Regions from separate parts of the Homo sapiens genome. Here region 2 is linked to region 1. The links are contacts of gene promoters, found by promoter capture Hi-C in human tissues and cell types (Jung and others, 2019). All regions are on one chromosome and are shown on one strand. The core of a region is centred on a gene start or on the middle of the fragment in contact, and the rest is flanking DNA. Distances in the headings are between cores, read along the strand shown.

Region 1 (4,420 bases), core at 1,359-3,858:
ACCCTGTGAGCTCAGGCGCATTGTCTCGCCTCTCCGAGGCTGACTCTCCTGTGTCTGAGACAGGGATGATCGCACACCCAGCCACCCAAGGCTGGCCAGGATGGAGGCAGGGCAGGGGAAGCCCTGGTGCGGCCTGACTTGTGTCTCCTGTCCCTCCCTAGGACTTAGTTATCAGTATTTTGGAATCAGCTGAATCATTTCTGTCAAATGCTAGAGGAAAGCCAGTTTTGAGTTGGATAAAGAAAATGTCTTTGATTCCTGTTAAAAATAAACATGTGTGCATAACACTGCTGAGCACGAGACCGCACCTGCCGTCCCTCCTTAGAGCTCCCAGCAGCTGTTGGTCTTTGGCGTATCCGGGAGAGGAGCGAGGCCTGGAGGTGTGTTGAGCCGTCCAAGGGCTGGTAGCATCAGGGGCTCTTCACTGCCTCTCGCTCCACAGAACCGCTGGGTTGAAGGAAGCTGGAGGGATCAATTGTCCTTGTCATCCAACTTCCTGTGTCTGTAGATGGGGAGGAGGCGCTGGGTTGGAAAGCGCTTCTCTGAGGACGCCAGCTGCGCATTCAGGAGGGCGGAGCAGGATATGACCCCAGAGCTCTGACCCCGGAGGAGCAGGAGGGGTGCCTGGGGCCTCAATACCCCAGAGGGGAGAGAGGTGCCCCCCTTCCCACAACGCGGGCCCCAGCTGGTGCTCGTTTAGCCTGTTGTCTAGCTGGAGCCACCTGGGTGGCCACCAGGCTGCTGGGAGGGCTCACCCCTGAGCTGGGTGTGCTGTGGAGCCCGTGACCCTCACCTCTGCCTCTGCTGGCTTTTGTTATCCCGTGCTGGGAACACCAGTGCCTGCCCACCCCGGAGGCTCTTCGTATCACCGGCTCGCTGTGGCCGCTCCCCAGTCCCGAGAGTGAATGTCCGGGATGCAGCAGACACCTGCTTACAAGGCACAGGTGAGGAGGTTTTGGAACTAATCTGAGGCATGAAGGTGAGGTGCTCTCAGGCGACGGAGGTGGCATGTCCTGATGGGAAAGCCAGGCCTTCGGAGGCTGAGACCCTTCCCAAGGCTCACCAGAGAACTCCCAAGAGTGTCTTTCCCCTGGCCTGGGAGACAATTTCACACCAATGCCACACTCTATTGCACAGGTGATTATGCACTTGGACCTCACCTGCCTGGGCTGTGGGTGGGGGCGAACGGTGCCCCTCTGGGTGCAATCAGTGGGGAGGGGCTCATGGCCTGAGCTTGGCTTTGCAGGATGGCCTGGCCACTGTGGGGCAGAGAGCACTGCCTGCGAGGGCCAGGGGAAGGCTGGCACTTTCTCCAAATTTCACGTTCGTGCAAAGACACAGTCATTCCTTTCTACAGCGTAGAGCTCAGAGCTGAAGCAGCCTCCAGACCTGCTGTCATGGGTATTTAAGGACCTAAATGTTGCTGTCAGCCTATGACATGAATGTGCCCCTAAGGCTAGATTCTGGGTTTCTCCAGAGAGACGAGAAACAGGAGGGAAAAGGAAGGAAGGGAGGGAGGAGGCTGGGGAGGAGGGACAGCTTCTAGTCCAGCTGGAGAGATCTGTCAACCCAGCCTGGGGGGTGGAGCTGGAGGGATCAAGCAGAATGTCCTGAAGGCAGCTGCCCTCAGTCTACTTGTGGGAGAGGACAGGAGGGAGAGGTGCCGTGGTGAGACTGACCCTCGGGCCCACGGGTGGATGATGGCAAAGGTCCTGTGGCAGGTGTGGGAGAAGCAGGGCTGCGGCCAGCTGCCCTGAGAGGCTTCAAATTCAGGCCAGATCTGCTCTGGGCAAGAGGAAGCTGTGGGTTTGGGAGCTTCAGAGACAGGGGAGCAGGCCTGTCACTCACCCTCTTTTCCTTAAAGGCTGTCACCCCCAGCAGTGCACCCTGCAGCCTGCCTATCCCCTGTGCAGCTCCAGCTCCGTCTGTCCCCAGCAATGCACCCCACGCCCATGTCCCCCACTCCCTATGATGCTCTCGCGCCTTCTGGAGCAGCAGTGGTACCAGCTGGAGGCTGTGGAAAAATTGAGAGGAGACAAAAGTGGGAAGAGCAGGCCGTGGAGAGAGTGTCTAAACACAGGGACTATTTGGAGATTGTCTTATTTTTGGTTTGAAATGGGCCCACCTGCTAGTATTGTACAAACGGCTCTGCTCGCTAGGCCAGGCCTGCAGTGGCTACGGGCCTATCCTTCACTGGTCAGCCTGGAGCAGCTCCTCGGACCTCAGTCTGCTCATCCGTGGGTAGAGGCGACGCAGACCCCATCCCACTGGGGACTGGGCCAGACAGCCTGTGAGGCAGTCAGCTGGTGCCTGGCCAGAGGGTGTCTGAAAGGCCTCTTGGCTGCAGGGTGCATCTGCTTTTGGGACAGCTCTTCAGAGCCATCTCAGAAGGGACAGCATCCGCCTGTCTACTTCAACTCCCACTGATGACGTCCATGTGTCATTAGTGCCAATTAGAGGAGGGCAGCAGGCTGAGTGCTTGGCCTGGGGCGCAAGCTTGTGGGAGGGAAAATTGGATTCCCCGCTAGACAAATGTGATTACCCGTGCTGCCTGGACCCACCCCATTCAGGACCAGGGCATAAATGGCCAGGTGGGACCAGAGAGCTCACCCCAGCCATGCCCGCCCTCAGTCGCTGGGCCAGCCTGCCCGGCCCCAGCATGCGGGAGGCAGCCTTCATGTACAGCACAGCAGTGGCCATCTTCCTGGTCATCCTGGTGGCCGCACTGCAGGGCTCGGCTCCCCGTGAGAGCCCCCTCCCCTATCACATCCCCCTGGACCCGGAGGGGTCCCTGGAGCTCTCATGGAATGTCAGCTACACCCAGGAGGCCATCCATTTCCAGCTCCTGGTGCGGAGGCTCAAGGCTGGCGTCCTGTTTGGGATGTCCGACCGTGGCGAGCTTGAGAACGCAGATCTCGTGGTGCTCTGGACCGATGGGGACACTGCCTATTTTGCGGTGAGTCTCTCCTCCCTGCCAGCTCTCCAAACCCTTCCTGACCCGGCACCCCATCTGGCCGTCTTTCTGCACTCACCCTCCTTAACCCAGAAAGTTCTTCTGTCACCTGTCAGTGTTTGAGTTGACTCTGCTCTGAGCCAAGTCTGCACCCCGAGCTTGGGCATCATGGGGATCTCAGTTTGAGGACAAAATAGGAAAGACATGCTTTCCATGGTCCTTGACTGCCCGCCCCAAATCATGGGACCCAGTAATCCCAAGGAATGGAACTATACACAGAGGACGCACACACCACACACACTCGTGCCGCTCCACACCCCACACGCGCATGAGCACAGACCCCACGACCCTCGGCCCTGTAAACAATGCCTAGTACCACGTCCCCAGAGCACACATGCCCACTGATGTGGGCCAGGTGGTGGCGCGTGGCTGGGCACAGCATGAGGCCTGCACACCCATGGGATCCAGCCTGACCTACTGTGCTTGTACCCGTGGACCAACTGAGCAGGTGCAGACACCCTGCCCCTACCCATAGGTGTTGAACAAGCCCCACAGGGCTCAGCCAAAACTGTTAGGATGGGCTCTTGACTCCTTTCCGTCCAAATTTACCTCCACTCTTGTTTCACAGGGTGGAGAAAGGGGAAAAGTTTCCCTTCAAACTGGAGGGGACTTTAGGCCCTTCCACAAGCTGCAGGGGGTCCCCGAAGTGGGCGAGCCCACCGCCTACAATGGGTCCTGCTCCAGCCTTCCTTTCCACATGGGACTGGCCACCAGGGCTTCTTTGTGGATGAAACCCAACTCTCTCCACAGAAACACACAAAGGAGTGACAAAAAAGTTTTATTTCTGAAGTCAGGAGGTGCCTGCTTTATCTGGGAGTGCCGAGCTGGAGCGGGGGAGCTGTGTCTGTGCGGAGCGGCCGGCTCCAGCTCTGCATCTTGGTCTCACCATGGGCTGGTGGGGCGGAGAGTCCCTCTCTGCCTTTTTGGGTGTTGTGAATTCATGAGGGCAGATGGTGGCTGCTGTTTCTGGAGCTGAGCTTGCCCCCTCCAATTCCCAAGACTCGGCCAGGAGGCACTTGCCTGTGTCGCTAGTGAGGCTTAGGGCCACCCAGGTAGGGTGAGTGGAGCTGCCTGGGAAGGGCCCTGCTCTGACCCATAGGGCTGCACAGATTCCTGTGCACAAAGACACTCTGTGGCTCAGGTTCCAGCCAAGAAAGACCTGGGACAGCCCTGATTCTGAGCCGTCAGCCGTCTGGAGGAGCAGCTGAACCCCATCGCTGACAGTTTGGGGTTCTTCGCAAGCCTCTGCCATGAGGCACCCTGAGTGCAGGAGCATTTGCTCCTCTCTGGGGCAGCGTCCCCCCTGCCTGCATTTCCCGGCTGCTAGGGAAGCCAGAGGAAGCCAGGTGACTTTGCCTTTCCGTGCACTGGCAAGGTTAATTTGCACAACAAATTCCTACGAAAGCA
Region 2 (4,420 bases), core at 499-2,998, 38 kb after region 1:
TGCCTGGGACGCCAGACCAGGCTAGCAGGCAGACCAGGAGATTGCCGTCGCAGACGGGCCTTCCAGGTGAGGTGCAAAGGCCCAGCGTTGGGCAGCGGACATGGTGGGAGGCAGGAGAGAAAGGCCTGTGGGGCTGTGGATACCTGACTGTGAAAGACACGATGGCTCAAGCCCTGCAGAAGTGACAGTGCCGATTATCGGGTGCTCTGGGCTAAGCTTCATCTCGTCCCTCCACGGCCCTTGCAACGGTGGGAACACGGTCAGTAATGTCTGTGGGCTGAGGCGGACACAGAGGCTCCCAGAGGCACTGAGCAGGGCCTAGGCACACCCTGCTCCGCTGAGGACAGCTGGTGTCTTTGGGAGGGTGTGTCCCGCACGCCTGCACAACAGGCTAGCACTCGGCTGCGTGGAGGCCACAGACAGCATGGGGGGCTTCTTGCACAGGAGGCGTGATTTTCCTCACACACTTGGTTCAGGTGCGTGGCACGTCCACACCCAGTAACTGGAGTCTGCGTCCTCACCTTCAGGCAAACCGTTGAACCCACTGACTCCCATGGGAAGGCCTGAGTGCTCAGCCCTGGGACCAGAGAGCTCACAAAAGGAATGGGGAGAGCTAGGCTGACTGCAGGATCCCAGACAGCGGAGGAGCTGATTCCACCACTGCTCTGAGTGGAAAGGCCCTCCCTGTACAGCTCCCGCTGGGATACGCCTGTGGGAAGGAGGGCAGAGGCCGCTCTCCCAACCACAGGGGCAGCTCCTTATAAACCTGACACTTTAATCACATGGCCGCCGAGGGGCTGGATTCTAAAAGCTTTGGAAATAGCGCAAATTTGCTCTAAGTTGCCATTTGCCCAGGCCTCCTAAAAAACTCAAAATTGACACAGAAAATATACTGTTGACATTTCCCTGCTTCCCTGGTGCAAGCCGTAGGCCCCTGACAAAGATTGCCTTGTCAACGGGGTTCTAATTTTAGATAGCCTATGGAGGAGCTCGGGGCTCAAAACCAATCTCATTTTGAAACAGGAAAAATAATTTTTAAAGTGCACCTATGCACGGCCCTCCAATTGCGGATCCCTGTTCAGACAAAGACCCGTCACCCAGCTCAGGGAGAGGGTTGGAGTTCACGGGTGGAAGGGAGGGAGCAGTCCCATCCTTCCTGGCTCCAGCAGCTCAGCGAGGATGGGGTCAGCTGGGTCTGGGTCTCCATTGTACGCCGTGCACAGCCTGGCCCAAGAAACAGTCCCTGAACGAAGGAGCAAAACGGGGGCCACACCTGCTTCCTGCCAAAGAGAGGGAGGCTGGGGAAATCCAGGGGCCTCTCTAAGTTCACGGAATCACTAGTTGTTGAGGCGTCTTACATTTTTCTCCACCAAAGCAGTGGAGTGGGATCAGTCCCCAGTTCTTCCAAGTGGGGACCCACAAGGAAAGGGACAGGCCAAGCGAGGACATCCAGAACAAACACGGGCTCCCAGTCAGCCGGGCTTGGGTGGGAACAGCGTCTCCCAGCGCCCATGGGGGTCGGCCCACTTGGCCTCAGTGCCCTGCTCTGACCCATCGGCCAGGGTTGGGTGCGTGTGCACCAAGCACATGGTCCCGGCACGTCGTCCTTGGCCACTCTGACTCAGGTGGGCTCTGAAAGCCCCAAATTGCAAGATGGAACTCCTGGCCGTGGATGGAGTCACAGAATTATGGAAGATCAGCAGGAAGGGTCTTATGTCAGGTTTTGTTTAAACCCTTTCCACATCCTGAAAATTCCATGCCAAAAAAGCCTGCTGAAACTATTAAACGAAATCAGCAAAGTTGGAGAAAGTGAAGTCAAATGAACCGTCACGTATGTGTTCACATGATCTCTACAAGGGCGCTGAGGCCACTCATGGGGAAAGAGTCTCCAACAAGTGGTGCTGGGAGGATCCGATAGCCACATGCAGAAGCGAGAAGCTGGTCGCGTACCTTACATCTTGTCCAAAAATTAACTAGACATGGAACAAAGACACAAGGGTAAGATCTGTAGCTGTACAACCTCTGGAAGAAGGCATGGGGAGTTGGAAATGGCAAGGGTTTCCTGGAGAGGACACCAAAAGCACAGGTCACAAAAGCAAAAGTCAGATGGAAGGACATTGATCACAAGCACATTTGTGCATCGAAGGACGCTAACAAAGAGTGAAAAGGCAACCCACGGGATGGGAGAGAACATTTGCAAGTCTTACATATGATAAGGGCCTTCTACCCAGACAGAACAAAGAACTCCTACAACTTAACAATAAAAAGTCAAATACCACCATTAAAAATGGGCAAAGGGGCCGGGTGTGGTGGCTCATGCCTGTAATCCCAGCACTTTGGGAGACCAAGGTGGGAGGACCATCTGAGGTCAGGAGCTCGAGACCACCCTGGCCAACATAGTGAAACCCTGTTTCCATTAAAAATATTTAAAAAAAAAATTAGTTGGGCATGGTGGTGCATGCCTGTAGTCCCAGCTACTCAGGAGGCTGAGGTGGGAGAATCACTTGAATCAAGGAGGTGGAGGCTGCAGTGAGCCGAGATTGTGCCACTGCACTCCAGCCTGGGCAACAGAGTGAGACTCCATTTAAAAAAAAAAAAAATAGGCAAGGGACTTGAATCGACAATTCTCAAAAGCAAATGCAAATGGCCAACAGGCCCAGGAAAAGATGCTCCACGTCACTACCCATCAGAGGCACGCAAACCCAAGTCACAGTGAGTTATCACTTTGTGCCCATGAGGATGACAATTATAAAAACAAGAAAAAGAAAGTAACGAGTGTTGGTGAGGATGTGGAGAAACTGGAACCCTTGTGTATTGTTAGTGGAAATGGAAAATGGTGCAAGCACTGTGGAAAACAGGGTGGCAGTTCTTTAAAACTTTAAAAATACAACTTCCATGTGATCCAGCAACCCCACTTCTGGGTATACACCCAAAGGAATTGAAAGGAGGGATTCGAAGAGGTATTTGCACACTCATATTCACAGGGTTATTCACAATAGCCAAGAGGTAGATGCAACCCAAGTGTCCATCAGCAGAGGATGAACAAGCAGGGCATAGTGGCTCACACCTGTAATCCCAGTACTTGGGGAGGCCAAGGCAGGAGGACTGCTTGAGCCCAGGAGTCTGAGACCAGCCTGGGCAACATAGGGAGGCCCTGTCTCTACAAAAAAAATTTTAGAATTAGCTGGGTTTGGTGGCATGTGCCTGTAGTCCCAGCTACTTGGAAGGCTGAAGGGGGGAGGATCACTTGAGACCAGGAGGTTGAGGCAGTGAGCTGAGATCGCACCGCTGCACTCCAGCCTGGGTGACAGACTAAGACCCTGTCTGAAATTAAAAAAAAAAACACACACCAAAAACAGATGATGAACAGACAAAAAGTGTTCTATCCACATGAAGGAATGTTATTCAGCCTTAAAAAGGAAGGAACTTCGGATGCATAACACAACGCGGACAAAAACATTATAAACACATCACGCTAAGTGAAGGGAGCCAGTCACAGAAGGACAAATCCTGTCTGATTCCACTCATATGAGGTCCCTGGAGTCACCAAATTCATAGACATCAAGAGCAGAATGGAGGGCACAGGGGCTGGGGAGAGGGAAAGGGAATTGCCTCAATGGGGACAGAGCTTCAGTTTCACAAAATGAAGACATTCTGGAGGTTTGTTTCCCAACAATGTGAACATACTTAACACTACCGAACTGTACAATTAAATTAACAAACCAGCCAGCAAACCAACTCCTTTTCTTCATGGGAAACTGAGGCTAGGAACTAAGTGACCGGCACTTTCTCGACATCCTGGACCACAGGAACAGAGGTGCCAGGGGAGGCCGGGGGGTGTAGACACAGAGATGGGAATTCGGGGAATGTGAGGGAATGGCCCTGGGCCGGACAGGAAGCTGCAGTCTGCGTCCAACAGAAGGTCAAGGAGATACCAGAGAGACCGGGGGGAAAGGCGGTACTTAAACAGATAACAGCAGAGAATGTTCCAGAAGTGAAGATGGTCGGTCATGAGCAGTCAGACTGCAGAAAGCACAGTGGGTACCAAACAGGATAAATACCAGTGAATCCCTGCATGGAAATCACAGAAAGAGTCCGGGCGCAGTGGCTCACGCCTGCAATCCCAGCACTTTGGGAGGCCGAGTTGGGCGGATCACTTGAGGCCAGGAGTTTGAGACCAGCCTGGCCAACACAGCGAAACCCCATCTCTACTAAAAATACAAAAATTAGCTGGCTGTGGTGATGGGCACCTTTAGTCCCAGCTACTTGGGAGGCTGAGGCAGGAGAATTGGTTGAACCTGAGAGGCGGAGGCTGTAGCGAGCCAAGGTCGCCCCACTGCACTCCAGCCTGGGCAACAGAGTGAGACTCCATCGCAAATACATAAGACAGAGAGAGAGGCCTGAAACCCTGAAACCACCC

What was found. Contacts are between HindIII fragments. The study calls those that stand out against the background at their distance.
Region 2: a fragment that was not itself captured here is called in contact with the fragment with the promoter of DBH in region 1 in 2 of the 25 tissues and cell types used here (IMR-90 fibroblasts and dorsolateral prefrontal cortex).

Annotation. Positions count from the first base shown.
Region 1 is chr9:133,633,755-133,638,174 of GRCh38, forward strand. It overlaps DBH (dopamine beta-hydroxylase), which reads left to right and starts at 2,609. Exons shown (of 12, transcript NM_000787.4): 1 at 2,609-2,956. The coding sequence starts at 2,618. RefSeq lists an enhancer at 3,874-4,420. The HindIII fragment of the contact is 16,885 bases long and covers 451-4,420 here.
Region 2 is chr9:133,672,764-133,677,183 of GRCh38, forward strand. All of the region lies in intron 17 of SARDH (sarcosine dehydrogenase), which reads right to left. Among named protein-coding and RNA genes, the nearest start is that of DBH-AS1, 18 kb to the left of the region's middle. RefSeq lists enhancers at 3,758-4,420, 4,208-4,420. The HindIII fragment of the contact is 3,615 bases long and covers 1-3,556 here.